3 separate regions of the Homo sapiens genome follow, and all the other regions are linked to region 3. The links are contacts of gene promoters, found by promoter capture Hi-C in human tissues and cell types (Jung and others, 2019). All regions are on one chromosome and are shown on one strand. Each heading gives the region's core, a stretch centred on a gene start or on the middle of the fragment in contact. The rest is flanking DNA. Distances are from core to core; before and after follow the strand shown.

Region 1 (2,700 bases), core at 70-2,569, 360 kb after region 3:
ACAGGCTAAGCACATTTCACGCTTTATTTTACTGAATCCATAAACAGTACAGTGGCATTCGTATAATTTCTCCTTATTACTAATTAGGAAACTGATTAGGAAAGTAATTATTCAGGGACACATAGCTAGCTTAGTTCTGATAGGTGAATGTCTGCAAAGCCTTGTGCTCCTAAGCTTTGTATTATATTTGCTTCCCCTTTATAATGTCTTCCCTTCTCAGTCTTTAAGGAAAATTTGTGCTTCTAAACTCTGCTTTTCTTTTCTTTTTTTCTTTTTCTTTATTTTTTTGAGACAGAGTCTTTCTCTGTCGCCAGGCTGGAGTGCAGTGGCGAGATCTCGGCTCACTGCAACCTCTGACTCCCTGGTTCAAGCGATTCTCCTGCCTCAGCCTCCTGAGTAGCTGGGATTACAGGCATGCGCCACCATGCCCAGCTGATTTTTGTATTTTTAGTAGAGATGGGTTTCACTATGTTGGCCAGGATGGTCTTGATCTCCTGACCTTGTGATCCACCCGCCTCGGCCTTCCAAAGTGCAATGATTACAGGCGTGAGCCACTGCACCCGGCCTAAACCCTGCTTTTCATTTAAAATATTTTCTTTTCTTTCTTAGTCTTTAAGGTCAATATAGCATTATTTGAAGCTTACTTAATAATGCAGATGATGACGAAACAGATTTTTATATTTATTTTTGACCACGTGATTGGAGGTAGCTGGAAATTTGAATAATCTTAGTCATAGTTCTTTAGCTGAGAAAATGGTAACACTTTGAACATCCCCCAAAATATTCATTCATACAACAAATGTGTTTTTGTTACAATCAGTGTGTTAGGGAATGGAATAGTGTTAATGGGTTGTTTTTATTGGTGAAGGGATATCATAAAAGACTCCACGTTGTTACAGTGTGTGCTAACTCTTGGGTACATACTATTTTGCAGGATGAATATAGCCACCGTTTAAAATTATCTTCCACTGATGTTTTTAGTATCCTCAGGTACTTTGTATACAATAAGCATACAGAAATATTTGTTGAATGAATGAATAACTATATCTCTAAAAAGAGATTTTATGCATATGAGAAAAATACTTAATCTTTTTTGAAACAGAAGGCTAAATTGGAAATTTATTTTTGGTGTTCCTCAAAGGTCTAATTTTAATTAATGTGAAATTTATTTCTTCATGGGAAATTGTTCTCAAAAGCTTTATCCCTTATACCTAAGATTATTACAATTACAATACTTTAGATACATTCAAGTTTTTGAAAATGAAAAGATAACTTTTTGTTTCATCAGTGACACCGAAATTACTGACTTGTCAAATGTATACTTCCAATAATTAGTATCTTTTTTAGTTCCTTGTTAGGTGGTAGACATAATTTAAAAGGAGATGTAATTTCTGTTTACATGGCTTCCATTTAGGGTAAAAAACTATTTTTAAAATTCTTAGAAAACAGGAATGTAAAGAAGGTGTTAGAAAGAAAATACTTTCAATGTTAAGAGAGAAATTAATCAATACACATAACATCAAATTATAGGATTTTACAAAACCATGTTATGTATAACATTAAAAGTGGCTTTTTAAGATAAGAATTTTATGCAAACTTTTGAGAATGAAAAAGATAACAGTGAAAAATTAGCACAACAGCAGCAGATTTTGAATTTTAAATAGTACTAGGAGGTTTCTAAAACCTTTTTTGTTATATCTGCACTCATCCTGCATTTGATCCATCATGTTCTGAAGAGGTCTCACCTAGAAAAATGAAAACCATTTCATCAGTACAGTGGTGTTCAGTTGCTTACTGCTGTCTCATAGTCATCTAATTGAATTGGAATTTCCTTTCCCTCCATTCCCTTTCTAAGAGGTTTCAAAGAATATTTAGAAGACACAATAAATGAAAACTGGACATTTCCCTATTGGTTGAATAAGTTTAGTGGTTTTTTTTGGCTCAGGGTTGGGGAGATCCAAGGTTATGTCATGCAAAAAGATGAATATGACCTATCACACAGTTCGTGCTGCATTTAGTTTCATATTTTGTGACTCAGATCTGTGAAAGATACAGATAAGAGGTGTTTGTTTTATTTCTTTTTTCCTTAAAGTGTTTTACTTCTTTTCTAGATTGGCCAGGTGAAACAGGAGCTGTCCAGAAAGGACACAGAACTACTCGCCCTGCAGACAAAGCTAGAAACACTCACAAACCAGTTCTCAGATAGTAAACAGCACATTGAAGTGTTGAAGGAGTCCTTGACTGCTAAGGAGCAGAGGGCTGCCATCCTGCAGACTGAGGTAGAAACAATTCTGGGATTTGTGGGGAGTTGGTTTCTTGGCACCTTTTCATAAGCGTTACCTGTGCTGTTTTTGTTATGTTTAGAATTGGGAAATATGAGTAATGTTATGATTAATTCTTCAGCAGCGTGATCAGTCACTGTGCTAAAATGTAACCATCTTATTTCAGTTGTTCTTAGATCTAACAAGTTAAAACAGGTGCAGTTTATGTTTTTAATTCTTTAAACTTTTGCCAAGTCTGTACTTCAAAGTATACTCTGACAGTATTAAAAATAAAAGGATAATTGTAAAAGAGAAATCATTGATTTAGAAGCTTCAGTTCAACCCCTGGTGAATTTTCTAGTCATGAATGACAATGAGCTTGGTTACACTGTGTTTGGAGTACATTTAAGTGTCTTTAAGTTGTGATATTATGAATAAC
Region 2 (2,700 bases), core at 127-2,626, 410 kb before region 3:
CCAGCCGGGCAACAGGGCAAGACTCTGTCTCCAAAAAAAAAAAAAGAGAGAGAGAGAAATGGGGGGAAAAAAAGACATGGGACACAGAAAACAGCAAAATGGGAGACATAAATCAACCATAGCAATAATTACATTAAACGTAAACAGACTAAACAATCAAAAAGCAACTGTCAGCTTAGGAAAAAAAGCAAGATCCAATTATATGCTATCTACAAGAGACACACTTCAGATTCTGAGACACAAACAGCTTCAAAATAAAAGAATGGAAAAAGATACACCAAGCAAACAGTAACCATAATAAAGCTACAGGGGCTATACTTTTATTTATATATCCTCTGTACTATGCAACTTTATCATGTGCAACTCTTTTAACAGGAGATAAATTATTGCCAATTATAGGGGGAAAGAAAAAGTGTCAAGAATCAAAGTAAAGAGAAAAGAAATGAATTACCATCTCAATTCAGCTTTACAAATACAGGTCATCTCCTACGTGATAGAACTGTATGTATATGTTACACTTTAAACACATATTTGACAATCTACCCACTCAGGTGTTGAAGGAAACTTATTTCTGGACCTACCAATAAAATGTGTTTTTTTTTTCCTCTTGGAGACAGAGTCTTGCTCTGTCGCCCAGGCTGGAGTGCAGTGGCATGATCTCGGCTCACTGCAACCTCCGCCTCCCACGTTCAAGTGATTCTCCTGCCTCAGCCTCCAGAGTAGCTGGGATTACAGGCAAGCGCCACCACGCCCAGCTAATTTTTGTATTTTTTTAGTAGAGACAGGGTTTCACCATGTTGGCCAGCCTGGTCTCTAACTACTGACCTCAAGTGATTCACCTGCCTCGGCCTCCCAAAGGGCTCGAATTACAGGCATGGGCCACCGTGCCTGGCCTAAAATGTGATTTAAAAAAAAAAAAAAAAAAACCTGGGGAGGGGCGTTCCAAGATGGCCAAATAGGAACAGCTCCGGCCTACAGCTTCCAGCGTGCTCAACGCAGAAGACGGGTGATTTCTGCATTTCCAACTGAGATACCTGGATCATTCACTGGGACTGCTTGGACAGTGGGTGCAGCCCACAGAGGGCTAGCTGAAGCAGGGCGTGCATCACCTCACCCTGGAAGAACAAGGGGTCAGAGGATTTCCCTTTCCTAGCCAAGGGAAGCCATGACAGACTACCTGGAAAAACGAGGCACTCCCGCCCAAATACTGCAATTTTCCCAAGGTCTTAGCAACTGGCAGACAAGGTGATTCTCTCCCATGCCTGGCTCCGCAGGTCCCACACCCACAGAGCCTTGCTCACTGCTAGCGCAGCAGTCTGAGATCAATCTGCTGAGGCAGCAGCCTGGCTGGGGGAGGGGCGTCCACCATTGCTGAGGCTTGAGTAGGTAGAAAAAGCACCCTGGAAGCTCAAACTGGGTGGAGCCCACGGCAGCTCAACAAGGCCTACTGCCTCTAGACTCCACCTCTCTGGGCAGGGCATGGCTGAACAAAAGGCAGCAGACAACTTCTGCAGACTTAAACATCCCTGTCTGACAGCTCTGAAGAGAGCACGGCATTTCACCTCTGAGAATGGACAGACTGCCTCCTCGAGTAGGTCCCTGACCCTCATGTAGCCTAACTGGGAGACACCCCTAGTAGGGGCCAACAGACACTTCATATAGACAGCTGCCACTCTGGGACGAAGCTTCCACAGGAAGCATCAAGCAGCAATATTTGCTGTTCTGCAGCCTCCACTGGTGATACCCAGGCAAACAGGGTCTGGAATGGACCTCCAACAAACTCCAACAGATCTGCAGCTGAGGGTCCTGACTGTTAGAAGGAAAACTAACAAACAGAAAGGAATAGTATCAACATCAACAAAAAGGTCATCTATACCAAAACCCCATCTGTAGATCACCAACATCAAAGACCAAAGGTAGATAAAACCACAAAGATGGGGAGAAACCAGAGCAGAAAAGCTGAAAATTCTAAAAATCAGAGTGCCTCTTCTCCTCCAAAGGATGGCAGCTCCTTGCCAGCAATGGAACAAAGCTGGATGGAGAATGACTGATGAGTTGACAGAAGTAGGGTTCAGAAGGTCAGTAAAAACAAACTTCTCCGAGCTAAAGGAGGATGTTCAAACCCATCGCAAGGAAGCTAAAAACCTTGAAAAAAGATTAGACAAATCGCTAACTAGAATAAACAGTGTAGAGAAGACCTTAAATGACCTGATGGAGCTGAAAACCATGGGACGAGAACTTCATTACACATGCACAAGCTTCAATAGCCAATTTGATCAAGTGGAAGAAAGGGTATCAGTGATTGAAGATCAAATTAATGAAATAAAGTGAGAGGACAAGGTTAGAGAAAAAAGAGTAAGAAGAAACAAACAAAGCCTCCAATAAATATGGGACTATGTGAAAAGACCAAATCTACATTTGATTGGTGTACCTTAAAGTGATGGGGAGGATGAAACCCAGTTGGAAAACACTCTTCAGGATATTATCCAGGAGAACTTCCCCAACCTAGCAAGGCAGGCCAACATTCAAATTCAGGAAATACAGAGAACACCACAAAAATACTCCTTGAGAAGAGCAAACCCAAGACACATAATTGTCAGATTCACCAACGCTGAAATGAAGGAAAAAGTGTTAAGGGCAGCCAGAGAGAAAGGTCAAGTTACCCACAAAGGGAAGCCCATCAGACTAACAGCGGATCTC
Region 3 (2,700 bases), core at 17-2,516:
CCGGACGCTCTGATGCGGTTGCGTACGTTTTCAGCGCTTCCCGCTCTCCACCGGTTGGACTGAGGCTTTTAAACTGCAGTCTGCTCCCGAGTCCGGCTTCCTACTCGGTCTGGTGCCCCCTGGTGCTCGTCCCCTCCACATCTTGAGTAGTTGCGAAGAGCACAGGGGTCCAGGCAGACAAGGATGCTTTCAAGAAAAACATTCCATGGCGGCAAGCCGCATGGATCCACATTTCCCGGGCCCAGAGCCTTTGTAGACATTGCATGTGGACATTCAGGAGCTCTAGAGAAAGAGGGGGTGTTGTTTCACGAAGCCACCAGCAGAAGAAAGGTGGAAAATAAGTTTCAACCAACTACAAAGGCAGAAGTCAGCCCAGCCCCCCAAGTGTGGTCAAAGACCCATAGATCCGTAGACCTTATCTTTTCTTGAATCCACCGCTCCCCCAACCCCCCTTTTATTATTTTTCAGACAAAGCAAAGATAGAGTTCACTAGGATCCCCGATTTCAGTAAGGCAGCCCTTTTTTGAGAGCCAGAATATCCGTCTCGGCCGGGAGCTGAGAATGTGGCCTTAATTGATGAGGGGAGGAGGATGGAAGGTAATCCTCCGTGTCTCCTCCTCCAATCCGTTTAATCAATATTAATTTCATGCACAATCTTCACAAAGTTTCTTTTCCCCTCCTCCGACTCAGAGCTCAGGCTCCGGTTATCCTGCTTTGCCCTTCCCTTCCACCCTCACAGCCCTGCAGTCACTCAACACTACTGAGGCTCTCTCCATTAAAGATGAACAACAGATCATTTTTCATTGCATGGCAACCCTAAGAGCTCTCTAGCTTAGCAGAGCATGATGGGAGTCTTTCCATCCCCCCCCCCACCCCCCGCCCGCTCGTTCCTCTTCTTTTTTTTTTTTTTTTCCTTCCTTTCCTTCTTCCACAATTAATCCCTAAATAATGATTTTCCTAAGCTCGCGCGGACTTCGGGATGGGGTTGAGCGACCCGTGATGACGCTCCCATCAGCCTTTCAGAAGGGACGGTTTCCAAAGAAAACTACAACTCCCACGAGGCATTAGGCTACAGCAACCGCAAGGCATCACGGAAGTCGTAGGCACTTTTCTTCTAGGTCCCGTTCATCCCCGCCAACCCGTAAACTATAAGTCCCAGGGTGCCTCGGGGCTAGCACGCCTGCGCAAAAGCCCCGGAGCGAGTTGGGGGGTGGGGCTGCTCCGGGCGGCGGGGGGCGGGATCCGAGCGGGCTGTGTGGAGGCTTCAGACTCCCGGCGCCATTTAGCGCGGAGAGTTTCCCGGGTGGACGCGGCTCCTCTCTCGGCCACTCCGCACCCCCATCTTCGGTGACAGAAGGCGCCTGGTGGGGGTGGCTGCTCTTTTCTCTCCCTGTTCCCCCTCACCCAGTCCTCTAGGTCTCCTCTCCTCTTGCCTCAGAGAAGCAGCGGAGCTCGGGCCCCGCGGTGAGCGGCCCTCCCCTCCCCGCCGTTCCCTCCTCCGTCAGCCCCCGGCACCGGCCCGGGAGGAGACGGGTTTGCCAGGCCTGGGGCGGGCGGGGAGGCCTCGGGGAAGGGGGGGCCCGCTCCTCAGGCGCCGAGGCTCCGAGGCTCCGGCCCTTCGCCTCTGGGCGATGGGCGACCTGTGAGGCCGGTCCCCATCGCTGGGGGCGCGTGTGGGAGGAGGCGGCCGCCCGAGTGACCGGGAGCCGGGCCGCGGCCTTCCCTCGCCCGCCTCGGCCCCTCCCACTCCTCTGCCCCGGGGCCGCCACCGCCCGGGCGTCGGACCTGGTCCCGTGCTCGCGGTGCCGCCGCCCTCTGGGCCTAGCCCGCCCAGCTCGGCGAGCGGCGGCAGTGGGAGCCGCGTCCGCCGCATCCGCCTCGACTCGGTGCCGGCCCCTGGCCCTCCCCTCATGACTGCGGCGCCTCTGCTGCCACCGCCCGCCCGGCCGCCGCTCGCCGCAGGATGGATGCGGACCGTGCGGCGCTAACCCCCGTGGCTCAGCTCCCGAATCGCCCGCCTTCGAGCCCTCCTCGTGAGCCGCAGCAGCCTCGGTGCCAGCCCCCGCCGCAGCTGGGCCCAGCGGTCCGCCTGTCCCTCGTTGCGGCTTGTCGGTGCTGAGTGAGGCGTCGTCCGGGTCGGCGCGAACCCGCCCGGCCGCGGTTCCCTGCAGACCTCTGCGCGGGCGGCTCGGCCCTTCACGCCCTTTTCGTTCACGAATCCGAGCCCGCTCGCCTCTCTCCAGCGAACCGACCATGTCTGGCGGCGCCGCAGAGAAGCAGAGCAGCACTCCCGGTTCCCTGTTCCTCTCGCCGCCGGCTCCTGCCCCCAAGAATGGCTCCAGCTCCGATTCCTCCGTGGGGGAGAAACTGGGAGCCGCGGCCGCCGACGCTGTGACCGGCAGGACCGAGGAGTACAGGCGCCGCCGCCACACTATGGACAAGGACAGCCGTGGGGCGGCCGCGACCACTACCACCACTGAGCACCGCTTCTTCCGCCGGAGCGTCATCTGTGACTCCAATGCCACTGCACTGGAGCTTCCCGGCCTTCCTCTTTCCCTGCCCCAGCCCAGCATCCCCGCGGCTGTCCCGCAGAGTGCTCCACCGGAGCCCCACCGGGAAGAGACCGTGACCGCCACCGCCACTTCCCAGGTAGCCCAGCAGCCTCCAGCCGCTGCCGCCCCTGGGGAACAGGCCGTCGCG

Evidence for each region. The method cuts DNA at HindIII sites, captures the fragments that hold promoters and counts their contacts. A contact is called where the count stands out against the background at its distance.
Region 1: a contact is called between a fragment that was not itself captured here and the fragment with the promoter of WNK1 in region 3, in 1 of the 25 tissues and cell types used here (mesenchymal stem cells).
Region 2: a fragment that was not itself captured here is called in contact with the fragment with the promoter of WNK1 in region 3 in 1 of the 25 tissues and cell types used here (dorsolateral prefrontal cortex).

The regions. Positions count from the first base shown.
Region 1 is chr12:1,113,755-1,116,454 of GRCh38, forward strand. ERC1 (ELKS/RAB6-interacting/CAST family member 1) reads left to right here. Exons shown (of 19, transcript NM_178040.4): 7 at 2,112-2,279. It overlaps LOC124902857 (a long non-coding RNA gene), which reads right to left. Exons shown (of 3, transcript XR_007063157.1): 3 at 1,660-1,745. Among named protein-coding and RNA genes, the nearest start is that of ERC1, 120 kb to the left of the region's middle. RefSeq lists an enhancer at 1,646-2,700. The HindIII fragment of the contact is 4,498 bases long and covers 1-2,700 here.
Region 2 is chr12:341,868-344,567 of GRCh38, forward strand. The region is part of intron 10 of KDM5A (lysine demethylase 5A); the gene reads right to left. Among named protein-coding and RNA genes, the nearest start is that of KDM5A, 46 kb to the right of the region's middle. The HindIII fragment of the contact is 4,192 bases long and covers 1-2,700 here.
Region 3 is chr12:751,313-754,012 of GRCh38, forward strand. It overlaps WNK1 (WNK lysine deficient protein kinase 1), which reads left to right and starts at 1,267. Exons shown (of 28, transcript NM_018979.4): 1 at 1,267-2,700. The coding sequence starts at 2,254. RefSeq lists enhancers at 323-422, 473-522, 1,280-1,998, 1,999-2,700 and silencers at 1,163-1,312, 1,393-1,772, 1,783-2,162. The HindIII fragment of the contact is 16,449 bases long and covers 1-2,700 here.